Linked DNA regions of Homo sapiens: region 2 is linked to region 1. Evidence: promoter capture Hi-C in human tissues and cell types (Jung and others, 2019). All regions are on one chromosome and are shown on one strand. The core of a region is centred on a gene start or on the middle of the fragment in contact, and the rest is flanking DNA. Distances in the headings are between cores, read along the strand shown. Region 1 holds the start of CDH5 (cadherin 5). Region 2 overlaps LINC00922 (long intergenic non-protein coding RNA 922).

Evidence for each region. Contacts are between HindIII fragments. The study calls those that stand out against the background at their distance.
Region 2: a contact is called between a fragment that was not itself captured here and the fragment with the promoter of CDH5 in region 1, in 2 of the 25 tissues and cell types used here (dorsolateral prefrontal cortex and lymphoblastoid cells).

The regions. Positions count from the first base shown.
Region 1 is chr16:66,364,014-66,368,847 of GRCh38, forward strand. It overlaps CDH5 (cadherin 5), which reads left to right and starts at 2,678. Exons shown (of 12, transcript NM_001795.5): 1 at 2,678-2,745. It overlaps LOC105371318 (a long non-coding RNA gene), which reads right to left. Exons shown (of 3, transcript XR_933687.3): 3 at 167-914. RefSeq lists enhancers at 2,571-3,120, 3,931-4,637. The HindIII fragment of the contact is 33,771 bases long and covers 1-4,834 here.
Region 2 is chr16:65,489,938-65,494,771 of GRCh38, forward strand. The region is part of intron 2 of LINC00922 (long intergenic non-protein coding RNA 922); the gene reads right to left. Among named protein-coding and RNA genes, the nearest start is that of LINC00922, 84 kb to the right of the region's middle. The HindIII fragment of the contact is 6,107 bases long and covers 1-4,834 here.

The DNA.
Region 1 (4,834 bases), core at 1,428-3,927:
GGCAGCAACGGGTCATGCTAGGATCCAAACCTGGGTCTGCAACCCCCACACCTGTACCTCCCCAAGCAGCGCTCCCTGTCGGGTCAGGCTTCCTCCTGGCAGAGGCCAGGTGGGCGTCCCCAGGCCTTGTCGTCCCACCCGCCATCCCACCCCCACTGCCTCCACTGTTGCTTCCTCCTCTGCTACTAATCTGGTCTCACAGACCATCCCATTTCCTGCTAGCCCACCAGCCGCCTTCCTTGCTCCCAATGACACTTCCTGGCCTTGTGCCCTCCTGTTACCTCCTTTGCCTCCAGAGAGGTTGGAGCAGAGGCTGGGCAGTGCCAGAAATCAGGCATGAAATCCTCAGGGGGACCAAGGAGGCACCAGCCTCCCTCCCACAGTCTCAGCTACCTCTGCTACGGTGACCCCCAGCCCCACCCCTGGGGCCCACAGCTCATGCCTGGCTCACCATTCCTTTGTTTATGGACCACAGGAACAGTCGTTTTCAGGGCAGAGTCAACTTCCTCATGGACTGGGAGTACAAAGGGAATTGGCAGATGGTGCCAGGACAGGCCCTGTCCCCATCTGCCACAGCCCCGAGTCTGAGACCCAGCAGGAAGCAATGCACAGGCCAGTGTATCCCCATGGGCACGTAGACCATGAGGACAGGCGGGGGTGAGGGGGATGTGGACTGGAACACAGGGGACAGAGCACTGTCCTGGCTCCTCTGCGGCCAACCCCCCCTCTGGGCAGGAGAAAGCAGAGTTAATCCCATTGGAGAAGGAAGCGCTGAGCTGTTGTTTGTTCATTCCACAATCGGCTGTTGAATGTGTTGGATCCCACTCAGAATTCCGCCCCAAGGACTGTTCTCCTTCCAGCAGGTCGCTCCTCAGTCTCCAGCATCATCTGTCTTCCCGTCTGCTGGATGCTCCCTGGGGACATGAGCGTGCTGCCATAGTTAAAAAAAAAAAAAAAAAAAAAAAAAAAAAACCCTCCCACTTCTCTGCTCCCATTCACTGTAAGACTTGGGGAAGAAGCTACAGTCACACGTGACTCCACATCCCCGTCCCCCTTTCTCCCCTTTCTCTAGCCCCTCCAATCTGTCTTGTCTACCTTTTCCTGTTTAACCTGTTCTGGTCACAGTCATTGATGACCTCATCTTCCAAATCCAAAGTTAAGTCTCAGCCCTCATGCTCCCCAGGCTGACCCACTGACTACTCCCCTGCCCTCCTCCTCTGCCCTCTCCTGGCATTCCTCCTTCATCATGGGACCCTCTTCTAATGGATCCCCAAATGTCAGAGGGTCCAAGTCCTCCCTCCCTCCAAGCTCATCCATGCCCATGGCCTCAGATGCCAGCCATAAGCTGTTGGGTTCCAAACCTCGACTCCAGGCTGGACTCACCCCTGTCTCCCCCACCAGCCTGACACCTCCACCTGGGTATCTAACGAGCATCTCAAACTCAACCTGCCTGAGACAGAGGAATCACTATCCCCTCCTCCTCCAAAAATATCCTTCCATCACACTCCCCATCTTGTGCTCTGATTTACTAAACGGCCCTGGGCCCTCTCTTTCTCAGGGTCTCTGCTTGCCCAGCTATATAATAAAACAAGTTTGGGACTTCCCAACCATTCACCCATGGAAAAACAGAAGCAACTCTTCAAAGGACAGATTCCCAGGATCTGCCCTGGGAGATTCCAAATCAGTTGATCTGGGGTGAGCCCAGTCCTCTGTAGTTTTTAGAAGCTCCTCCTATGTCTCTCCTGGTCAGCAGAATCTTGGCCCCTCCCTTCCCCCCAGCCTCTTGGTTCTTCTGGGCTCTGATCCAGCCTCAGCGTCACTGTCTTCCACGCCCCTCTTTGATTCTCGTTTATGTCAAAAGCCTTGTGAGGATGAGGCTGTGATTATCCCCATTTTACAGATGAGGAAACTGTGGCTCCAGGATGACACAACTGGCCAGAGGTCACATCAGAAGCAGAGCTGGGTCACTTGACTCCACCCAATATCCCTAAATGCAAACATCCCCTACAGACCGAGGCTGGCACCTTAGAGCTGGAGTCCATGCCCGCTCTGACCAGGAGAAGCCAACCTGGTCCTCCAGAGCCAAGAGCTTCTGTCCCTTTCCCATCTCCTGAAGCCTCCCTGTCACCTTTAAAGTCCATTCCCACAAAGACATCATGGGATCACCACAGAAAATCAAGCTCTGGGGCTAGGCTGACCCCAGCTAGATTTTTGGCTCTTTTATACCCCAGCTGGGTGGACAAGCACCTTAAACCCGCTGAGCCTCAGCTTCCCGGGCTATAAAATGGGGGTGATGACACCTGCCTGTAGCATTCCAAGGAGGGTTAAATGTGATGCTGCAGCCAAGGGTCCCCACAGCCAGGCTCTTTGCAGGTGCTGGGTTCAGAGTCCCAGAGCTGAGGCCGGGAGTAGGGGTTCAAGTGGGGTGCCCCAGGCAGGGTCCAGTGCCAGCCCTCTGTGGAGACAGCCATCCGGGGCCGAGGCAGCCGCCCACCGCAGGGCCTGCCTATCTGCAGCCAGCCCAGCCCTCACAAAGGAACAATAACAGGAAACCATCCCAGGGGGAAGTGGGCCAGGGCCAGCTGGAAAACCTGAAGGGGAGGCAGCCAGGCCTCCCTCGCCAGCGGGGTGTGGCTCCCCTCCAAAGACGGTCGGCTGACAGGCTCCACAGAGCTCCACTCACGCTCAGCCCTGGACGGACAGGCAGTCCAACGGAACAGAAACATCCCTCAGCCCACAGGCACGGTGAGTGGGGGCTCCCACACTCCCCTCCACCCCAAACCCGCCACCCTGCGCCCAAGATGGGAGGGTCCTCAGCTTCCCCATCTGTAGAATGGGCATCGTCCCACTCCCATGACAGAGAGGCTCCTCGAGGGCACGCTGGGCCTCCTCGTGGCTCAGAGCAGGGTCGGGGAAGGTGCACCCAGAGGTAGTGCCAAGGGCACAAATGGGCATCTCGGGGCTGAGGGGGGCAGGGCAAGGGCTTGGCTCTCCCAGAAGTGTATTCTCCAACTCAAAAAGGCCCACTGGCCTTCATCAGTGCCAGGCTCAGAGAGGGCAGTATTCTGCCCCAGTTGCCCAGCATGCCGGGGCAGAGGACTGGCACCCAGGCCTTGGCCTCCCCTCGGTGCCTTACCCTTACTGGAGAGGATTTACCAAGGCCTGACACCAGCCTCCTCAGCCCCCTACCCATACGCCACTAAAGCTCTATGCTGGGATCTGGGGAGGGGCCCTGAAAAGGAAGCTCCGAGCCTTGGCCCCTCTCGGTCAGCCAGTGCCCCCATTTCAGGATAGGCAAGCTGAGGCTTGGCTCTGGGCACTTGAGGTCTTGCCTTTCCCTCTGGGCCTTTCCCTGCCCAAACACCATCGGGGCCCACTATGTGTCAAGGGAGCTGTAGTCTGGACAGCGGTCCACCATTCCTCCCACCAGCACCCTTTCAAAGGCTAGAGCATAAGAGCCCCAAGGCCCCCACAGCCCAGGAAGTCCCCCAGAAGCAGGAGGTCTGGGCCAAGAGCCTGGCCTGGAGACAGCTGCCCTGGGTACAGATCCCAGCTCTCCCATTTGCTCTGGGGTGACCTTGGGAAAGTTACCCAGAGTTTCCAAACCACAGTGGGGAACAAGGGATGGTGTGGGGCTCATTATTTTACCATTAACAACTCCACAAGGTAGATACATTCTTTCTTTATATCTCAGTGAAAGCAACTGAGCTTTGGAAACATATGAGCTGGTGTGGGGATTTGAACCAGGATCTCGTACTCCAAAGCCCCAGCTCTCCCCAGGTCTCAAGTGTCTCATCTGTGAAATGGGGAAACAGTGTTTCCTCAGTCAATTGAGTGAAGTGAGCTACATCCCTGGTGCTGGGAATGGCACATAACATGAGATCTTTAAGGAATAGTGGCTGGATTTACCAGCTAGCACAGAGCCGATCCTGGTTGTGAATGTGATAAAGATTTTGGCCCTTGAGGTATGGTCAAACCCCATCACGGAGGGGTCCTCAGGTGCCCAGCAGGTACGAGGAAGGGGGTGCAAGTGAGAGGACATCGCGAGCACCTCTGGGCCTCTGCTCCATGTCAGGCTCCCTCCCCAGCGTGGACGTTTCTCATGTGTGATGGGCAGATAGGATTCTGACAAGAGAGGAAGGGCATTCCCAGGGAGGCAGCTTTGAGGAGTCGAGGGTGTACCTGGAAGGCTCTTTTGCCACAGGCCACTGGAGCCAGGGCCAGAAGCCCTGGTCCATCCTCAGGTGGTGGGAAGCCTGGGACTCTCCTCTGCCTGCCCTAGAGAGCAGCAGGTATCCACCAAGGGGCCCAAGAGCTGCTGAGCCCCTGAGCAGCCCTACCAATTTCAGCTTATGGTGGTGAGGGGTAGGGGAGGTGTATACTGGCCTGGAAGGGGTTAAGCTGCCCGCCTGCAGCCTCAGCCTGAGCTATTGTGTTGCCAAACAAGGGCCGGACATGAGGGCAGGAAGCCAGCAGGGGCCACACATTTTCTGCAAAGTTGGATGATTCACTGCTGACTTGGGGACACCCAGGGGACAGAGGGGACACCATCCCAGGAAGAATCTTAGGCTCATTTTGCCCACATGGACCCATGACTGTTCCCTGTATCCTCTCTCTGCACCCCCTCAGTCACACTGAAGCAACTATGAGAATTCCCATTTGACAGATGGGACCATCGAGGCTGAGGGAAGCTGTGCAGCCAGTCCAAGGTCACACAACCAACACAAGGTAGAAGCAGGGTGAGTGCGGTTCCTTCTGACCCACAGTCCATGCCACACTCCACAGTGAAGCTCAGAGAGGGGGAAAGCAGAGCAGTCCAGGCCACAGAGGCAGG
Region 2 (4,834 bases), core at 951-3,450, 870 kb before region 1:
TAATAAGTTTCCTGTGAAACAGCACGAGATGACACTCCCCGCTCCTCCACACCCTAGCTTCAGGCCTAACCATTCACCAGCAAGCTGGTCCCAAAGTCTCCGCTCCAGACCTCCGCTTCATTTCCTGCTTTTAACCCCTGCAGGCTTGGTCCCCCATGTATTCTCCACACCTGGCTATGTGAAATTTGAATGGACATTTCAATGGAGAAATCCACTGCTGTCCCCAAAGTGCCCAAAAGTGCCAATTAACCCATAGTGGCTTTTAAACCCACAGCCACTAAAATCTCGCTGGGGCAAGGACTGTGCCAATGAATTTGCAGCTAGCTGTAGGTACGGAGGTACCAGCGAATTTCACTGGCACCAGTGCCCTTCTCTGCCTTATATTTCAACAGCAGCTCAGTCTGGAAGCTTTTATTCACTCAACTGTGGTGCTATTTTTATATCTCTGTCAAATCTCTTCCTGATCCCTCTCTTTTGAAAAGGGTCCTTATAAATTCTATCGTAATGGCAGGAATGCAAGAAACTGCAAGGGTGGGCAGAGACTAGGGGACACGTGGTCCTACAGCTGTTACCATCTTGGCATAAGAAAGCAGGTGAAGTTTTAAAAAAAGACGGCCACACTGCCATGCCTCTGTCACCAAAGACAGACCTCACATGTCTGTCTCATGTGTGTTTAAGTGTCTTAACAAGACTGCTCATGTCTTTCACCCTAATCAATACGCAAGTAATTTTTAAAAATAAAACTAAGTCTATTTTTAACCATATTCTGTGACTCTTGGAACATTAGCCAACTAGAATGTCCCATTTATTTATTCACGGGGTCAATGTGCTTAGGAGTTTGCAGCCAACTTATTTGTGTATATGATGGAAAAGACTGCAGATACTAAACAAGCAATGCCACGGAGTGTGACACATGTCCTCACTGGAGAAACACCAAGGGCTGGAGGAGCCCGAAAAAGGGATCTTAACTCAGATTTGCTGAATAAAATAACACTGTGTGGAAGAAAGTTCGTCTCAACTGAAACCTGAAGGATAAATGAAGAGCCAGATATAGAGGCAAAAGTGTGTCCCAGGCACGTGTTCCAGAATACACAAAGATCCAGGGAGCAACGACAGTGCAGTGAAGAAAATCTGGTGTCATTTTTATCTGGTAGCAAGGGACATAATAGTGAGGAATTGGGCTATCAAGGCAACCAGGACCAAGTTATGAAGATTTTTGATAACAACTTCTAATCACCTTTACAGTTCACTCCAATTCTGAATCTGGAACCTGAAGAGTCACCCCATGTCCTTTATTTCTGATAAATGGGGGGCTTGGCTACGTATGAACATTTGGGAGCCCCATCACCTAGAATATAAAGTTCATACTCCTAAGTTTTTAATTAAATGGCTCCAACTCACCCTGTTTGTGAGCCAAGGCAGGGTCATCTCACCCCATCGCAATGCTCCAGCACCCCTTGATACTGACACCATCAGACCAAATTTCTCTGGGTTTCCTAATATTTCACTCTCCTTTCCTAACACTACATTTCTGCCCATGCCACCCACTCTACCAAGAATTGCCTCTAGTCATATTTGCACTCACATTTGGCTAGCACCTGCCAATCTTTCAAGATTCAATCCAATGCCACCTCCTCCAGAAAGTGCCTTAAATTCTGTCCGCAAGAATTGAACATTCCTTCATCTGCATTTGCACAGCACTATCAACTTTCTTCCCTAGACTTTTGTTCATAGGGTTGTATTTCAAGCTCTCAATTTCATCACACAGGGTCTTCTCACACATATTAATACTTAGGTAAATGCAAAGTACTTCTTTAATATCAAGAAATGACAGTTTGTGCCAGTATGGTGACCTGTAATCCCAGCTACTTGGGAGGCTGAGACAGGAGAATCATGAGATCTCATCAAAAAAAAAAAAAAAAAAAAAGACAATTCATTGACTACTCATTTCATATACTGTATAGGACAAGTCATAATTGCAATGTATAATCATGTTATGTACATTCATGGTGACTTGTATGTATGGTCTATATCCTCAAAGAGATTCTAACTTCCTTCAAAAAGAAAACATACTTGTCTTATTCATTTTTATATTCTTAGGGTTTAATTCCAGGGCATGGGACACACTTCCAGGGCAAGTGTGCTCATGAATATTGTTGAAAAAATAAATGAGAAAAACAATGTAAATAGACCCTTCCACCCCTCCCTCCCATGCAGGCAGGCAGAAAACCTTTAATCCTCTTTAATTTCCTGTTAAGGATTAAACAATACAAACCAATGGAGCCCCTCCTGCCACACCACACACACACACACACACACACACACACACACACACACACACACAAAACAACAACCCTTTCTTAATTCCTTAATCTTCTTTAATTTCCTGCTAGGAATTCCTAGGTCAATGAGGACAGCAGTCAAATGTACAAAATGCCTTTTTGGGATGTTCAAGAAAAATGCAAACTTTTGTGGTGGATTATCAGACTGGAGAAATTCAACAAGACAGAGAGTCACCGGGGTTTTACTCCCAACTTTACCACTGACTGTTGAAAGGCACTCAACATACCAATTAGAAACTGCACATTTGCACAACTCAGTAAATTCATCAATGATTTAAAAAAAAAAAACCTTTTTTCCAATTCACTTTCAACTTTCCAATCTAATGTCCAAATTGCTGCACACACATTCACTAAAAAAACAATGAAAGTTGGGCTGGGTGCGATGGCTCACGCCTGTAATCCCAGCACTCTGGGAGGCCGAGGCGGGTGGATCATGAGGTCAGGAGATCGAAACCATCCTGGCTAACAAGGTGAAACCCCACCTCTACTAAAAATACAAAAAATTAGCCAGGCGCGGTGGGGGGCACCTGTAGTCCCAGCTACTTGGGAGGCTGAGTCAGGAGAATGGCGTGAACCCGGGAGGTGGAGCTTGCAGTGAGCTGAGATGGCGCCACTGCACTCCAGCCTGGGCGACAGAGAGAGACTCCATCTCAATAAATAAATAAATAAATAAATAAATAAATAAATAAATAAAGTTCATTTTCATCATCAACTGCCTTCTACTTTCTTTGTTCTTTTTCTTTTTCTTTTTTTTTTTTTTAACACCCTCCTCACTCTCCATTGGTATGGTATATGCAAAATTAACTGGCCTTGAAGAAAGAAAATGGTTTGGGGGTAAGTTAACAGTCTCCTGCTTGAACAATGTCATACGTGTGGGACCATGTTCACTCCTGCGTGGCTAAACTTGGGACAAAGGAAGGGTGCATCTGTTTCTAATCTGGCTACAGGCCTCAGGAGTTTTAACCTGAAGTTTGTTGGAGAGTAATTCCTGGAATCATCACCGGAGTAGACTTCTAAGAATAGAGACCCTTCTGAAAGCAGCAGCTTAAAGGATCAGTCTGGTGGGGGCCCTGTTCTTTGGCATGATGGAGGAGACCAACTGGAGCTTAATAAACTTTCTCCTAGTTCTGGGAAATTGAAAATCAACTTATGGATTTTGTTTAGCATCTGGTCTAGGTGCCTTTTTTCTTAATTACTTACAGAGACATTAGCAATATACCTACTAGAGGCTTCCTTTTTCTGAGGTCTATTTGTAAACATAAAATGTTAAAGATTTATGGTAATTGTAACATTAAAATCAACCCCCGTGTTTTAAACAGATCTTGTAGCTGCTACAACTTACTCAATTCCAATTGCATTGTGTAAATTGGCCTAATAATGAAGAGCCATACATTTTCATTAGTGCACTTGTCCTGTCTGCTGATGGCTGACATTCTAACTTTTGATAAACAGCAGGATTCTCTAAACTGCTGATTTTGCAGCTCTGACTCTCCATTCAGAAGAAAGAAAATTTGACTTCTGAATCTTGCTGGTAAAAACTCCTCTTCAAAGATGTTTTAAAATTATAGGCATGTTTTTTAAGACCAATCTAAATGGTCACCTCTTGTTATAAGCCATTCTTCTCATTTGCAAAATGTACATAATAATGCATTTAGGTCATTCATTCATTCCTTTATTTTTGTGACAGATATTCGATGATTGTTTCCTATGTACACCTGGTCCTAGATTAGGTATATGAAGATGAAATAACACAAATATTCAGTGCCTGGTATGTAGAATAGTATATTCAGTAAGTGGTAGAGCCTTCTTCCCTTTCTACAGGAGTCTAGATAATGTAGATAAGGATAAATTTTTATGATGGTCAACATTACGAAAAAGGAATTGACATCTCTCATGAGAAAGACTTAGCTTTTGAGAGTAAGAAACATCTTTTGATACCATTCAGCTCTCTCTCTAACTCCTGCTGGGACCCCCCACTGCACTGCTTATGTTTATCTATCTTCAGCAAAAGTAAGCTCAGTCTACAAGGCAGCCTGTTCTGTGAGTAGACTGAGTAGTTAGCTCTTAACATATGCCTTCAAATAATGGCTCACCCTTTACTGGGCTTGTCAGAAGTAAAAAAAAGCAAATGACCTCAATTTTCTATATGGAAGATGGTTGTGTTTACTCCTTTCCTAAGCCCTCTTCTCTCAAAACTCATCACCCACTTTTCTTTAACTGTTTGTTATAAGACGCTGATATAAGTTTTAGCCTCTTCACCCTGTTGTTTACCTGCCTGTGGATGTCAGTCAGCCAATGACCCTCTTAAAAGAAAATGTGATCTGACTCAAAGTGAAGGAGAAGTGATAACAGCAGAGTTTCCTATGGGCACATTGCTCAAGAATCACTATGTGTTCAACTACTCTTGGGTCTTCACAAGCAGCCCTGCATGGTTCCTGTTTTACAGTTAAGGAAACTGAAATACAGAAAGGTAATGATTGGCCTACAGCCAC